Regions from separate parts of the Homo sapiens genome. Here region 1 is linked to region 2. Evidence: promoter capture Hi-C in 16 types of primary human blood cells and fetal thymus (Javierre and others, 2016). All regions are on one chromosome and are shown on one strand. Each heading gives the region's core, a stretch centred on a gene start or on the middle of the fragment in contact. The rest is flanking DNA. Distances are from core to core; before and after follow the strand shown.

Evidence for each region. The method cuts DNA at HindIII sites, captures the fragments that hold promoters and counts their contacts. A CHiCAGO score of 5 or more calls a contact.
Region 1: a fragment that was not itself captured here is called in contact with the fragment with the promoter of SNX19 in region 2 in 3 of 17 cell types (total B cells, non-activated CD4 T cells and total CD4 T cells); the score reaches 11.7 in total B cells.

The regions. Positions count from the first base shown.
Region 1 is chr11:20,387,438-20,394,184 of GRCh38, reverse strand. PRMT3 (protein arginine methyltransferase 3) reads right to left here and starts at 6,469. Exons shown (of 16, transcript NM_005788.4): 1 at 6,411-6,469; 2 at 6,031-6,166; 3 at 4,359-4,441; 4 at 1,925-1,974; 5 at 1,186-1,288. The coding sequence starts at 6,438. RefSeq lists enhancers at 5,599-5,648, 5,504-6,110, 6,111-6,718, 6,592-6,747 and a silencer at 6,199-6,747. The HindIII fragment of the contact is 1,671 bases long and covers 2,185-3,855 here.
Region 2 is chr11:130,914,320-130,920,578 of GRCh38, reverse strand. SNX19 (sorting nexin 19) reads left to right here and starts at 4,100. Exons shown (of 11, transcript NM_014758.3): 1 at 4,100-6,259. The coding sequence starts at 4,640. RefSeq lists a silencer at 3,908-4,187 and an enhancer at 4,308-4,357. The HindIII fragment of the contact is 12,734 bases long and covers 1-6,259 here.

The sequences.
Region 1 (6,747 bases), core at 1,771-4,270, about 110 Mb after region 2:
TTCCCCTCAGGATAGCACTGGAAGAAATGTGACTTCGTAAAAATTCCTATTCATTTTTTAGTTGTGAAGACACGTCCTTGGAATTAGGACAAAATAGCTAAGCCAAACGAATGCATTATACTATAAGAGACTACAGCCTAAGTTGAATTCTTGTTATAAAAGCAGTGCAGGGTGTCACTAACTTCTCATCACTGTGGCAGAATATTGAGTCACTGAGGTTTAAAAACTGCATCATTCACTATCTAATTCACCAAAAATTAATCAGCACAACAAAATATTTCCAAACTATATAAGGCTGGTATACTGTATTTTCTACTTCCTACTACAAACCTCATTTTGTATTTTGATTTCAAAATTCTTCAAACTGTTTGGCCAGTTTCTGTTTTGCTTTCTGCTGCAATAAAAATTAGTCATAATAAAAACTTTTTAATGTTAAGAATATGCAGATAATTATATATTAAAGATTAAACTTAGAGATTTGAAAAAAAGAGGATTCAGTAAATATTAAGATTCCTAACTACAATTTGCTAGAACAGTCTAATTCAAAGGCCTAAACCATATTCAGAAAGATGAACATCTACATCTACCTTCTGTCTCAGGATGTTCAAATCACCTGGATACTTCTTTCGGGCAGAGAAGAATTACTGCAAAGGCTGACCAATTTTTCAGTAAAATATAACAATTATAAATGTGTATAAACCTCACATAAGAGCTCCAAAATACATGAAGCAATTAAAGGCAAAACCAGACAATCTTTTGATCACAGAGTTTTTAGTTTTTTTAGACAGAGTCTTGCTCTGTCACCTGTATACCAGGTTCAAGTGATTCTCCTGCCTCAACCTCCCGAGTAGATGGGACTACAGAAGCCCGCCACCATGCCCGGCTAATTTTTTGTATTTTTAGTAGAGATGGGGTTTCACTGTGTTAGCCATGATGGTCTGGATCTCCTGACCTCGTGATCTGCCCTTTTAGCCTCCCAAAGTGTTGGGATTACAGGCGTGAGCCGCCACACCTGGCCGACTATTAGTTTTTAAGCAACTTAACTTTTCTACTGAAACTAACTACCTGATGAAGCATTTAGATAATTTTAAAAAGCATGTCTTTTCCTAAAACACTCTACCTCCATTTTGCCGTTAACAAACGGCCTTATGTTAATTAAAGGAGATACACTTATGTTCATCTTACCAAATTGAAGTAAAAGGTCATCTTCTAATACTGGCTTCAAATACTCTTCTTTCTCCCAAGGCACTGGGTTGTATATGGAATTCATGTACTCAACTGTAGGATTCTGGATATAAAATTAATCTCATGTTTTTTTCATTACATATAATCACAAAATCCCCTTAGTAAAAACTACAGAAATTAAACAAAAAGGAAATCATGTTTGCATTACACAAAGTCAGTATGTCTCCAAAAAGTCTACGTGCCTGTCATTTCATTAACTTGCTGGACGACTGCTTAACCAGCAGTTTCAACGCAGAGTTTTTTTTACTGTTTGGATTTGGGGAAAGCGTTGTCATGTCATTAAACATTCATTTAAACAGGACAAAAAAAAAAAAAAACAAAGTATCTGAAAAAAAACAGAATAAAAAAGAGCAACCAAAATACTTAAAATCACATTAGAAATTATTTCTGATTTTACAGATCCTGTCCATCAGTATTTCCCTTTATTTGACACTGAATTACTTTTTCACATACACCGATTCATCTCTTAGATGCAGTGAAAACAATATTTGTTAGTTATGGTAGACATTTACATGGTGCTTTCTGCTGTGCTACCTCCTAATGTCCGTGATTCCCCCAATATGATGAGTACCAAATTTAATGCAGTTCCTCATATTCTTTTAAATAATCAGTACACTGACAGTCACTGTAGCATTTCTTTGATTTCTAAACGAAATTATAAATTAAGCTGTCAACTTACCTTAAGTCTAATAAAATTTATTAGCTTAATGTATCCATAAAATTCAAGTCCTAAAGGGGGAAAAAGATAATTCACCTATGTTAACATAATGAGTTTTGTTTAACTGACCTATTCTATAAAGCCTTCTCTGATTAAACAATAAAATAATTCTGACCTCTAAATTACTACTTATATTTTGAATTTTATTAAGAATTAGAAGTAGTAATACAATGATACTTCTGAATATCTTGAGAAGCAGCCATAAATGACAAATTAAAGCTTTTCTAGTATTTCTAAAAAGATGGAAAACTGATTTCTAAAATTCTACTCCTCCTTTGTCAGAACAATACAAATCTGGAAAATTAAGATCCACATTTTACCAAGTATTTGGCAACTGATATCAGAGCTGAAAGTATTAAATCCCTAATTTTTATGGTGTGTATCAAATTATAATTTTGCCAGGACATGGTGTATACTAGCTTTTACATGAAGTTAAATGATGCAAGCCCAATAAGGCTTGTTATCTGGTTCTCGTATCTTTCCAGAAATGAAGCAGCATTTAAAACAAAGGAAAGCAGTAATACATCCAACCAACCAATTATTTGTCATAAAACTCTTGTTATGAGAAAACTTTAATAGTATACAAACCCCCTATATCGGTAAGTAAAAAAAAAACAAAACAAAATTCTATCTTAAGTATGATTCTAATACTTTAGAAATGCAACATTAAAAACATTAAGGCTGGGCACAGTGGCTCATGCCTGTAACCCCAGCACTTTGGGAGGCCAAGGCAGGCGGATCACCTGAGGTCGGGAGTTCCAGACCAGCCTGACCAACATGGAGAAACCCTGTCTCTCCTAAAATACAAAATTAGCCAGTGTGGTGGCGCATGCCTATAATCCCAGCTACTTGGGAGGCTGAGGCAGGAGAATCACTTGAACCCGGGAGGCGGAGGTTGCAGTGAGCCGAGATCGTGCCATTGCACTCCAGCCTGGGCAACAAGAGCGAGACTCCGTCTCAAAAAAAAAACAAAAACAAAAAACATTAAAAAATGAGGCTGTCATTTATGCCTTACGAAAGTACTTGCAGTTGAATTTATGATTTATAAACATGTGATATCACGTATTTATCTGACACTGAAACACCTGTTAGTATTTGCTATTCTTCAGTAATGTCCCTTCTTAGTTGTCAACAAATATAGGGACCAAAAAACCTATTATTTTTTTTTTTTTGAGACGGCGTCTCAGTCTGTCACCCAGGCTGTAGTGCAGTGGCATGATCTTAGCTCACTGCAACCTCCGCCTCCCGGGTTCAAGTAATTCTCCTGCCTCAGCCTCCCAAGTAGCTGGGACTACAGGCACATGCCACCATGCCCGACTAATTTTTTGTATTTTTAGTAGAGTTGGGTTTTCACTGGGTTAGCCAGGATGGTCTCGATCTCCTGACCTTGTGATCCATCCGCCTTGGCCTCCCAAAGGTTTTCACTGGGTTAGCCAGGATGGTCTCAATCTCTTGACCTTGTGATCCACCTGCCTTGGCCTCCCAAAGTGTTGGAATCACAGGCGTGAGCCACAGCACCTGGCCTATTTAGTTAATTTTATTGTAGTATAGCTCTTCTACATCCATTTAAAGTGGAAGGCCTTAATTGTAAGGCAAGTGTGTTTAAATAAAAGTTTCAATAGAAACATCACCTGAGTATTTTGCATATTAATCTTAACTTCATCACTCTTTTTCCAGTCTCTACCGAACTTTGTATAAAACTCAGTCTCGTAGGCTGTGAAGTTCATGTCATGCTTTGAGCTGATTGTCTTTTTTCAAATGACCTGCGTCCTTTTTCAAGTCCTACATCTACACTTGCTCTCCCTAAATCTAATATGTAATCACATAAAATGTAAAAATGTAATCACATGCCAAGTCTGTTTTTGTTTTTAGTTGAAAAGCTAATATAAGCTTAAATACAGTGAATCTTGTCTAGAAGAGTGACTTATTCATCTTTTCTCAAGGACCGCTTGTCAAAAAAACTCCATTTCCACAAGATGTTGCTGTGTGATTCGCCATATTAAACTCGTACAGAAAAGGGTCTGAAAAACTATAAAATCTGAACTTATATTTCACAGATTTTTTTTTTTTTTGAGAAGAGTCTCACTCTGTTGCCCAGGCTGGAGTGCAGTGATACCATCTCAGCTCACTGCCACCTCTGCCTCCCAGGTTTAAGCAATTCACCTGCCTCAGTCTTCTGAGCAGCTGCTATTACAGGTGTGCGTCACCACACCCAGATAACTTTTGTATTTTAGTACAGGTGGGGTTTCAGCATGTTGGCCAGGCTGGTCTTGAACTCCCGACCTAAAGTGATCCACCCACCTCAGCCTCCCAAAGTGCTGGGATTACAGGTGTGAGCTGCCATGCCTGCCCAAATTTCACAAATTAAATTGCCTTTATTCTAAAAACTACTCACCATGTTTATGAACCATGCTGTCAATATTAAACTGATGCTCAGACTTACAGTGTGAAAATGTTTCTTCAGCAGATGTGAATAACCTGAAAAATCAAGCAATAGCTTCATGGAATAGTCCCCTAAGAAGTCTAAATACTGATTTCATGTTACATATACACTTTTTTTTTTTTTTTAACTCTGCTGGTTTCTAGTTTTACTTCCAATTAAGAAAAAACAAACACACTTGTATCTGAAAGGAAGGGAATCCAGCACTTTTAAAGGGAATTAGTACTTCTGAGTCCCATTTTATACCTAAAACCAATTATCCTTTAAATGTCAAAGTGAATTTATTTGTCAAATAATATCACTGATTTTATCAAAAGGCTTTTAAGAGAGTTCCCTTTGATAGAGTCTGTTTCTCTCAAGTCATACAATTTCTCTACTTGAGATTCTTTTCTCCTCTAAGTGTCAACTCTGCTTTCAGAGGCTTTGAACTGGCACAGCTCAAACTGCTTTTAGAAATAAAGCATAAAATGTAATTTTACAGCTGGCATACTCCCCAAGTGCCTTATTTCAAAAGTGATCTTGTAGTATTCCCAACGTACTTGCATCACAGACACTGTGAGGATCAATCCTCTTTATTATGTGACATGCAAATCTGAAGGCTACTTAAAGACAGGAATACACAGCAGAGAAGCTGTATACCTTATCTATATTCCTAACACATGTGGAGCATTAGTTTTCCACAAATGTTTACCGAGATAGGTTATGTCGACTATTTATGGAGGCTATCACAGCCACGGTACCACTGGTGCTCAATAAATATTTTATGACAACTAGAATATATACAGGCATTCTATCTACCCAATGGGGCTACAGATGAGAACACTAACGCACCACCACTCAGCACCATGCCCAGATACAGGGAACACTGGAAAATGTATTAAAGTAACACCGGCCAATGCCAACCGGGCCTCTTTCATGCCTACTTGCCTAGGACAGGAGCCAAAGCTTCCCAAGACTAACAGGCAGAATTTTAAGTGGCAAGAATGTGAGTTTGGAAATAAGCACACCACAGCTTTGTGACCTTGAGCAAATTATTGATACTACAGTCTTTTTCCTTAAGTGAAAAGTCCTACTTAAGTAAGGTGAACTTCCTTCTTAGACTATGGAAACCGCTCAAATAAAAAAGAAATGTTTCACCTGAGAAGCTCTGTACTGGTCAAAGAATTAGCATGGTAAAGCCGGAAGGCTCCGTAGGGATTATCTAGTTCAGGGTGGCTGCCAAATATGTTACTCGTTAGTAGTAACTCGTTAGTAACTTCACTGTTACTTCCGATCTTGTCCTCATAAAAACAGAATATTCTTAGACCCCATCCCTGACTTGGAAGGATTCAGGTGCAGAGTTCAGTATCATTTTGTTTTCAGCGTCTCAAGTGACAAGATTTGGGAACCACAGATTCAATGCACTACCAGTCAAAAGCTTGCAGTACAACCGGCCTTCCAGTTCACGGTTCCCCCTCTCTACTACCGAGGGTCCTCCTTCTCCACAAGCCCTCACCCCAGACCAGTGGTTCCAGAATTCAAAGACAGGCCACTCTGGCTTGCCTCCCGCCCGAAGGCGTTCCTGGGCACACAGACCCCACGCGCCCGGGCACCCTAGGGCAGAGGCCAGGCGCTGAGGCGGACGAACCTGTTACAGAACAGGCAGGGGGTCTGCTGCTTGCCGTGGGGGAGATCTGCATCGTCCTCATCCTCCCAGGCGGCCTCGTCCCCGCTGTCCGACAGTTCTGGCAGGTCCTCCTCATTCTCCACAGCGCCCCGGCCGCCTAACACACACACACAACAATCAGATCGGCCTCGGACACCGGTGCGGCCCGGGGGCTCGAGGAGCAGGTGACGATGGGCTCTCCTCCGCCCCGTTCGCCCGCGGCCCTCACTCAGCACCTCCTTCATGATCCCTGCGAGCCCCCCACCCTGCCCGGGCCCGTGTCCCGGAGGGTCTTCCACCGGCCCCACAGCGGCGCGGCCTGGGGCTGGACGAGCCGGGTGCTGAGGGGCCAGGGTACCCACCGGTAGCGCCTGACGCTAACGAGCACATGGCTGTGGTGCCCCGAGAGCCCGGCGTGTCTGGGGGCGGGGACCGGGTTGGGCAACGAGCGCGCGCAGCGGCCGCCGACTCCAGGAACGAGCGCGAGCACAAGCGCGAACCCGCGGCGGGACCCGGGCTCCGGAAACTTCGCAGACCGCCGGGAACGCCGAAGCGCGCGCGCTGGCTCGCAATCGCTTCCGGCCTCGAGGCGCCGTGCGGGTCACGTGAGGTGGGGGCGGGGCGAGAGCGGGGGCTCCGCCTCCTCCTGCCGCAGGGTTGGCGCAGTGCGCGCTGAAGAGGCGCGCTGATGACGGTTAA
Region 2 (6,259 bases), core at 2,851-5,350:
GCACAAAAGTCAAGAACTATGGTTTGGAAAACTCCATCTAGATTTCAAAGGATGTATGGAAATGCCTAGATGCCCGGGCAGAAGTTTGCTTCAGCAGCTTGGCCCTCATGAAGAACCTCTGCTGGTCAGTGAGGAAGGGAAATGTGGGGTGAAAGCCCCCACACAGAGTCCCTACTTGGGCACCACCTAGTGGATCTGTGAGAGGAGGGCCACTGTCCTCCAGACTGCAGAATGATAGATTGACCAACAGCTTGCACCATTCACCTTGAAAAGCCAGACACTCAATGCCAGCTCGTGAAAGTAGCTGGGAGAGAGGCTCTACCCTGCAAAGCCACAGGAGTGGAGCTGCCCAAGACCATGGGAACCCACTTTTTGAATCAATTTTGGAGTGTTAAGATTTGACTGCCCCACTGGATTTCGGACTTTCATGGGGCCTGCAGCCCCTTTGTTTTGGCCATTTATCCCATTTGAAATGGCTGTATTTACCCAATACCTGTACCCCCATAGTATCTAGGAAGTAACTAACTTGCTTTCGATTTTGGAAGCTCATGGGCAGAAGGGACTTGCCTTGTCTTGGATGAGACTTTGGACTGTGGAATTCTGAGATAATGCTGAAATGAGTTAAGACTTTGAGGGACTGTTGGGAAGGAATGATTGGTTTTGAAATGTGAGGATATGAAATTTGGGAGGGGCCAGGGGTGGAATGATATGGTTTGGTTCTGTGTCTCCACCCAAATCTCATCGTGAATTGTAACTCCCACAATTCCAATGTGTCATGGGAGGAACCCGGTAGGGGATAATTCAATCATGGGGGCAAGTCTTTCCCATTGTTCTCATGATAGTGAAGAAGTCTCATGAGACTGATGGTTTTATAAAGAAGAGTTCTCCCACACAAGTTCATTTCTCTTTTTGCCTGCTGCCATTCACGGAAGATGTGACTTGCTCCTCCTTGCCTTCTGCCATAATTGTGAGTCTTCTCCAGCCATGTGGAACTGCAAGTCCAATTAAGCCTCTTTCTTTTGTAAATTGCCCAGGCTCCGGTGTGTCTTTATCAGCAGCATGAAAATGGACTAATACAATACTAAACACCTCCAGAGAAAATAACTCAACCATATGTATTGGTGCCACTACAAAAAGGTCCCTCAGCCCCACCTTCTCTCTTTTTTTTTTTTTTTAGACGGAGTCTCGCACTGTTGCCCGGGCTACTGGAGTGCAATGGCACAATCTCGGATCACTGCAATCTCCACCTCCTGGATTCACGCGATTCTCCTGCCTCAGCCCTCCGAGTAGCTGGGATTACAGGAGCACACCATCACACCTGGCTAATTTTTTTGTATTTTTAGTAAAGACGGGGTTTCACTATGTTAGCCATACTGGTCTTGAACTCCTGATCTCGTGATCTGCCTGCCTCAGCTTCCCAAAGTGCTAGGATTACAGGCATGAGCCACTGCGCCCAGCCCCCACTTCATCTTTTTACCTGACCTTCGATAGCTCCCTTTCTATATCCCACAGCAATAATTCCATACCATCGCCTCTTCTCACTCACTTGCCCCATCACTGAGCTTCTCTTTAGGAAGCCTCCTGGTCTTCTATTTTGAGAGAAAATTCAAGTGGGGTGCGGGCTGGCTCTGGCAGGGCCTATGTCACGGGCCCCCCTGCTCTCATGGTCTCTGCCTGTTTCTTATGAGCAGGCCTCTGCCTGAAAGACCTTCCTTCTGTTTGCCCCTTGCTCTCGCTACCCAACATTTCCTAAAATACACTCAATTCTTTTTCATTTCCCAACTTAAGGGAAAACTGTCTATGAGCCACCCCCCTCCACAGCTGACCACCCGCTTTGTGTTTCGATTTTATTGTATGCACTTCTATTACAACACATCAGAACACATCACATTACACACGTGATCATGTTTCATTACGTTTATATATTTATGTGTCTCTCCTTTAACTAGACTGAGAGTCCCTTGAGGAGAATTATTGTATCTTATTTGTCTTGTTTTCTCCAACACTCTAGCACTATGCCTTTAATGTTTTGAGAAATAGGGAAAAGGAAAGAAGGAAGGACGTCTCCAGATGGTGAGTGGTGTGGCCAAGTCTCCCCACCCCACATACACACACCAGGGCACATCAGTCCTGACTCTCACCTCCTCCCAGTGATTAATCTGTTTGGAGACCAGGGTCTGCCCAGACCCCCAGGCAGGAGCTCACACCCGTCCAAATGACAAGTGCACGGGCATGTCCATCAAACCCGCTTCAGAATCAGGAAGGCACTCTTGGCTACCTTGATGCTCCAGACCATCTGGTCAGGTGGCATAGCGCCCACTTGCAAGGTCACTTCCTTACTGCCCTGAACACTCCAGATTATGCTGCCAAGTAAACTTTCTCTTTGAACTGCCACAGGAAGTCTTCAGCACCGTCGGTAGTCCCTTCATCATTCACATTTCTGTTTTAGCTCCCAACTAGGTGGCAGGGACTTTTCTCCAGAGCATTGTTGCCATTTTCTAAGTGCTCCTGAGGACATTAGAATGGTCTGGGAAGGTAGAGGGGCAGAGCCCACTTCTCGGGTTCCTTTTCTGCGGGAAGGCAGGCAGCAGTGAAAAGGTATGGACCGTGAAACCGTGGATTCACATTCTGCCATCTCACGGGAGTGCCCAGTCTGCTTAGTGGACACTGATCCTAAATCAAACCATTTGCTTTAGAAGTGATGAATCGTAAACTACGGGTCACATCTAAATGATGGCTTCTTTCGTATTCAAAGGAAGTCTCTGCCCCAACAGCAGCAATGGACGAGACAGGAAGCTGCAACGCACTTCTTGTTGGCAGAGTTTTGGGTTGGGATTTGTTTGAAGATTCCTTTAAACATCTAGGGAGTAGTCCATGATGATGAAAGACTGCTCACAGCACAGAGAAGGTGGACGAAGGGCAACCATGAGCAGCTCTGTGCAAACGATGCGAATCCTATGCCTAAATGGAAAGGAGACCCACCCTGCGGGCACAGCTCCTAGGGCCCAAGGTGGACATGGAAGCTGGCTTCACGCAAAACTGACACTAACACTTTTGACACCTGGTCAGTGCTTCCGGTATTTTGTCTTCCTATAGGTTCCTGTGTAGACAAGTGAAGTCTAATTTGCTAAAACCAAAAACAATCCAACATAGAGCATATTCCAAAGCAAATATATTACAGGATTATCTGAAAGGACACCTCTATCTCTGCTTTCCTTTTCTATGTTTTTGGGGAGGATAAGGCGAGAAGAGATAGAGGGAAATAGAAACCCTCATCCTTGAAGACTCAGCAGAAAGGCACCTTTTCTGTGAGCTTCTCCTTAACCATTGCAACCCACAGTGATCTCTCCTTCCCCTGAATTCCTATAAGATTTTGTATTTTACTATATCGCACGCTGACTGGCATTACTAGATAGCCAATCGCGTTCAAAGCGCTGGCATCCCCAGTTAGCAGGAGGTCCTGGAGGACAAGGTCTGCTTCTATTCGTCCACGCTGCCTCTCACATTGAAGACAGCAGATGCTCAAAATATTTGATTGTTTGTGTAATGCCACCAGCAAATAACCCTCAATCACAAATTTGATTTTGTGATACAGTATATGAAATGTACAACATAAATCTATCTCTGTATCGTTTCATGCCTTATATTCTGCAATTCCTGACAACAAATGAGGGTCTTTGTGCTGGGGACGCGGGGTACCGGCTCTAGGGGAAACCGGATAAATGTTAAGACACATCAGGCCAATGAAACTTCGCCTCCATGAAATTAAAATAAACCGGATTATTGACAGCGTGCCTAAGCAGTAAAGGACAGGCTTCATTTAATAACCAGAACTAGGACGCGTTTTAAAGCGCCTGGAAGTCTGGGTCTTAGCGGTGATTGCTGCGGCGGCTGTTTCGTGGCACTTCGGAAATCTGCGCCAGCTCTTGGCGAGCACGCGCCCCGTGCGCGCTCAGGCTCACGCTCAGGCTCAGAGACTACCTCGCGCAGGGCCGTCAGGGCGGCTCCTCGCCAGCAGAGGGCGCCGGGCAGCGCCGCTCCTCGGGGCGCGCGCGGACGCTCTCCCAGCATGCCTCGCTCCCGTCGACGTCGACCCGGAAGCTGTCGCCGGCGGCCGGCCGGCGGTCAGCCTTCACACAGGCCCGGCTGCGGAGCGCAGTCGCCCAGGTTTACGGCGGCAGAGGGCCGAGGCTCCCGGAGAGGACCGCGATGAGTCCACTTCAGGTCGGGGCTGAGTGTGGGCGCGCGGTTCCCGGCGGCGTGTGACCCAGTCTTCGCCGGCCGCTGCCCGCTGCGTGTGTAAGTGTCCGTGGGCCCCAGGGCCTTGCAGCGCCCGCCCCGAGGCCCCGAAGAGGCCTTCCGCCTGGGGCAGTGTGAAGGCCACAGAGTTTTCCTCCAAAGCCACACCTCAGCTGGAAGGGGCGAGTTGGAGGGCTCTGTTAGTGGTAGCCATGGGGAGACGCGGAGCTGCAGCTGTCGCTTTGCAGTGCCTGTAGGACTTTGAGGGCCTGGAGCCCCGGTTCCCTGAACAGCACCCAGATCGCCCCATATCTGAGACACAGTTCATGCCCCCCTTCCCTAACTCTGAAGTAAAATCTTGAGGGCTGTCATCTGGGGAAGCCACCTTGTCCGTTCAGCCATGAAGACAGAAACAGTGCCACCGTTCCAGGAAACTCCAGCTGGATCGAGCTGTCACCTCAATAACCTGTTGAGTAGCCGGAAGCTGATGGCTGTGGGGGTCTTGCTTGGCTGGCTCCTGGTCATACACCTTCTGGTCAACGTGTGGCTGCTGTGCCTTCTGTCGGCATTGCTAGTGGTGCTGGGAGGATGGCTGGGCTCCAGCCTCGCTGGAGTGGCTTCAGGTCGACTGCATCTGGAACGCTTCATCCCGTTGGCCACCTGTCCTCCATGCCCTGAGGCAGAAAGGCAGCTGGAACGGGAGATCAACCGCACCATCCAGATGATTATTCGAGATTTTGTGTTATCTTGGTACCGTTCCGTGAGCCAGGAGCCAGCCTTTGAGGAAGAAATGGAGGCAGCCATGAAAGGGTTGGTCCAGGAGCTTCGGAGAAGGATGAGCGTGATGGACAGTCATGCTGTTGCCCAGAGTGTTCTGACTCTCTGCGGTTGTCACCTGCAGAGCTACATTCAGGCAAAGGAGGCCACTGCAGGGAAGAATGGTCCAGTTGAGCCTTCCCACCTCTGGGAGGCTTACTGCCGGGCGACTGCCCCACATCCTGCTGTGCACAGCCCCAGTGCTGAAGTCACCTATACGCGTGGCGTTGTGAATTTGTTGCTTCAAGGGCTGGTGCCCAAGCCCCACTTGGAGACTCGTACCGGACGCCATGTAGTGGTCGAACTCATCACATGCAATGTAATCTTACCACTGATCAGCAGGCTGTCAGATCCTGACTGGATCCACCTTGTACTCGTGGGTATCTTTTCCAAGGCCAGAGATCCAGCACCCTGCCCAGCCAGTGCCCCCGAACAGCCCTCAGTGCCGACATCTCTGCCACTGATTGCTGAGGTAGAGCAGCTTCCAGAAGGGAGAGCTTCTCCAGTAGCAGCCCCAGTATTCCTAAGTTACAGTGAGCCAGAGGGTTCTGCAGGCCCCTCTCCAGAGGTTGAAGAAGGCCACGAAGCTGTAGAGGGAGATTTGGGTGGGATGTGTGAAGAAAGAAAAGTAGGAAACAACTCATCTCATTTCCTACAGCCAAATGTTCGAGGTCCCCTGTTCTTATGTGAAGACTCAGAGCTGGAGTCTCCGCTGTCTGAACTGGGCAAAGAAACCATCATGCTCATGACTCCAGGCAGCTTTCTCTCTGACAGGATTCAGGATGCCCTGTGTGCCCTAGAGAGTTCCCAGGCTCTGGAACCCAAAGATGGTGAGGCATCTGAAGGAGCAGAGGCTGAGGAGGGTCCAGGGACAGAAACAGAGACAGGCCTGCCGGTCTCCACACTGAATTCCTGCCCAGAGATCCATATTGACACAGCAGACAAGGAGATAGAACAAGGAGATGTTACCGCCTCTGTTACAGCTTTGCTGGAGGGGCCAGAAAAGACCTGCCCCTCACGGCCGTCATGCTTAGAGAAGGATCTCACCAATGATGTGAGCTCCCTTGATCCTACTCTGCCACCAGTTCTGCTTTCCTCCTCTCCACCTGGTCCTCTCAGCTCAGCCACCTTCAGCTTTGAGCCCCTAAGCAGTCCCGATGGTCCAGTTATCATCCAGAACCTTCGTATCACTGGCACCATTACA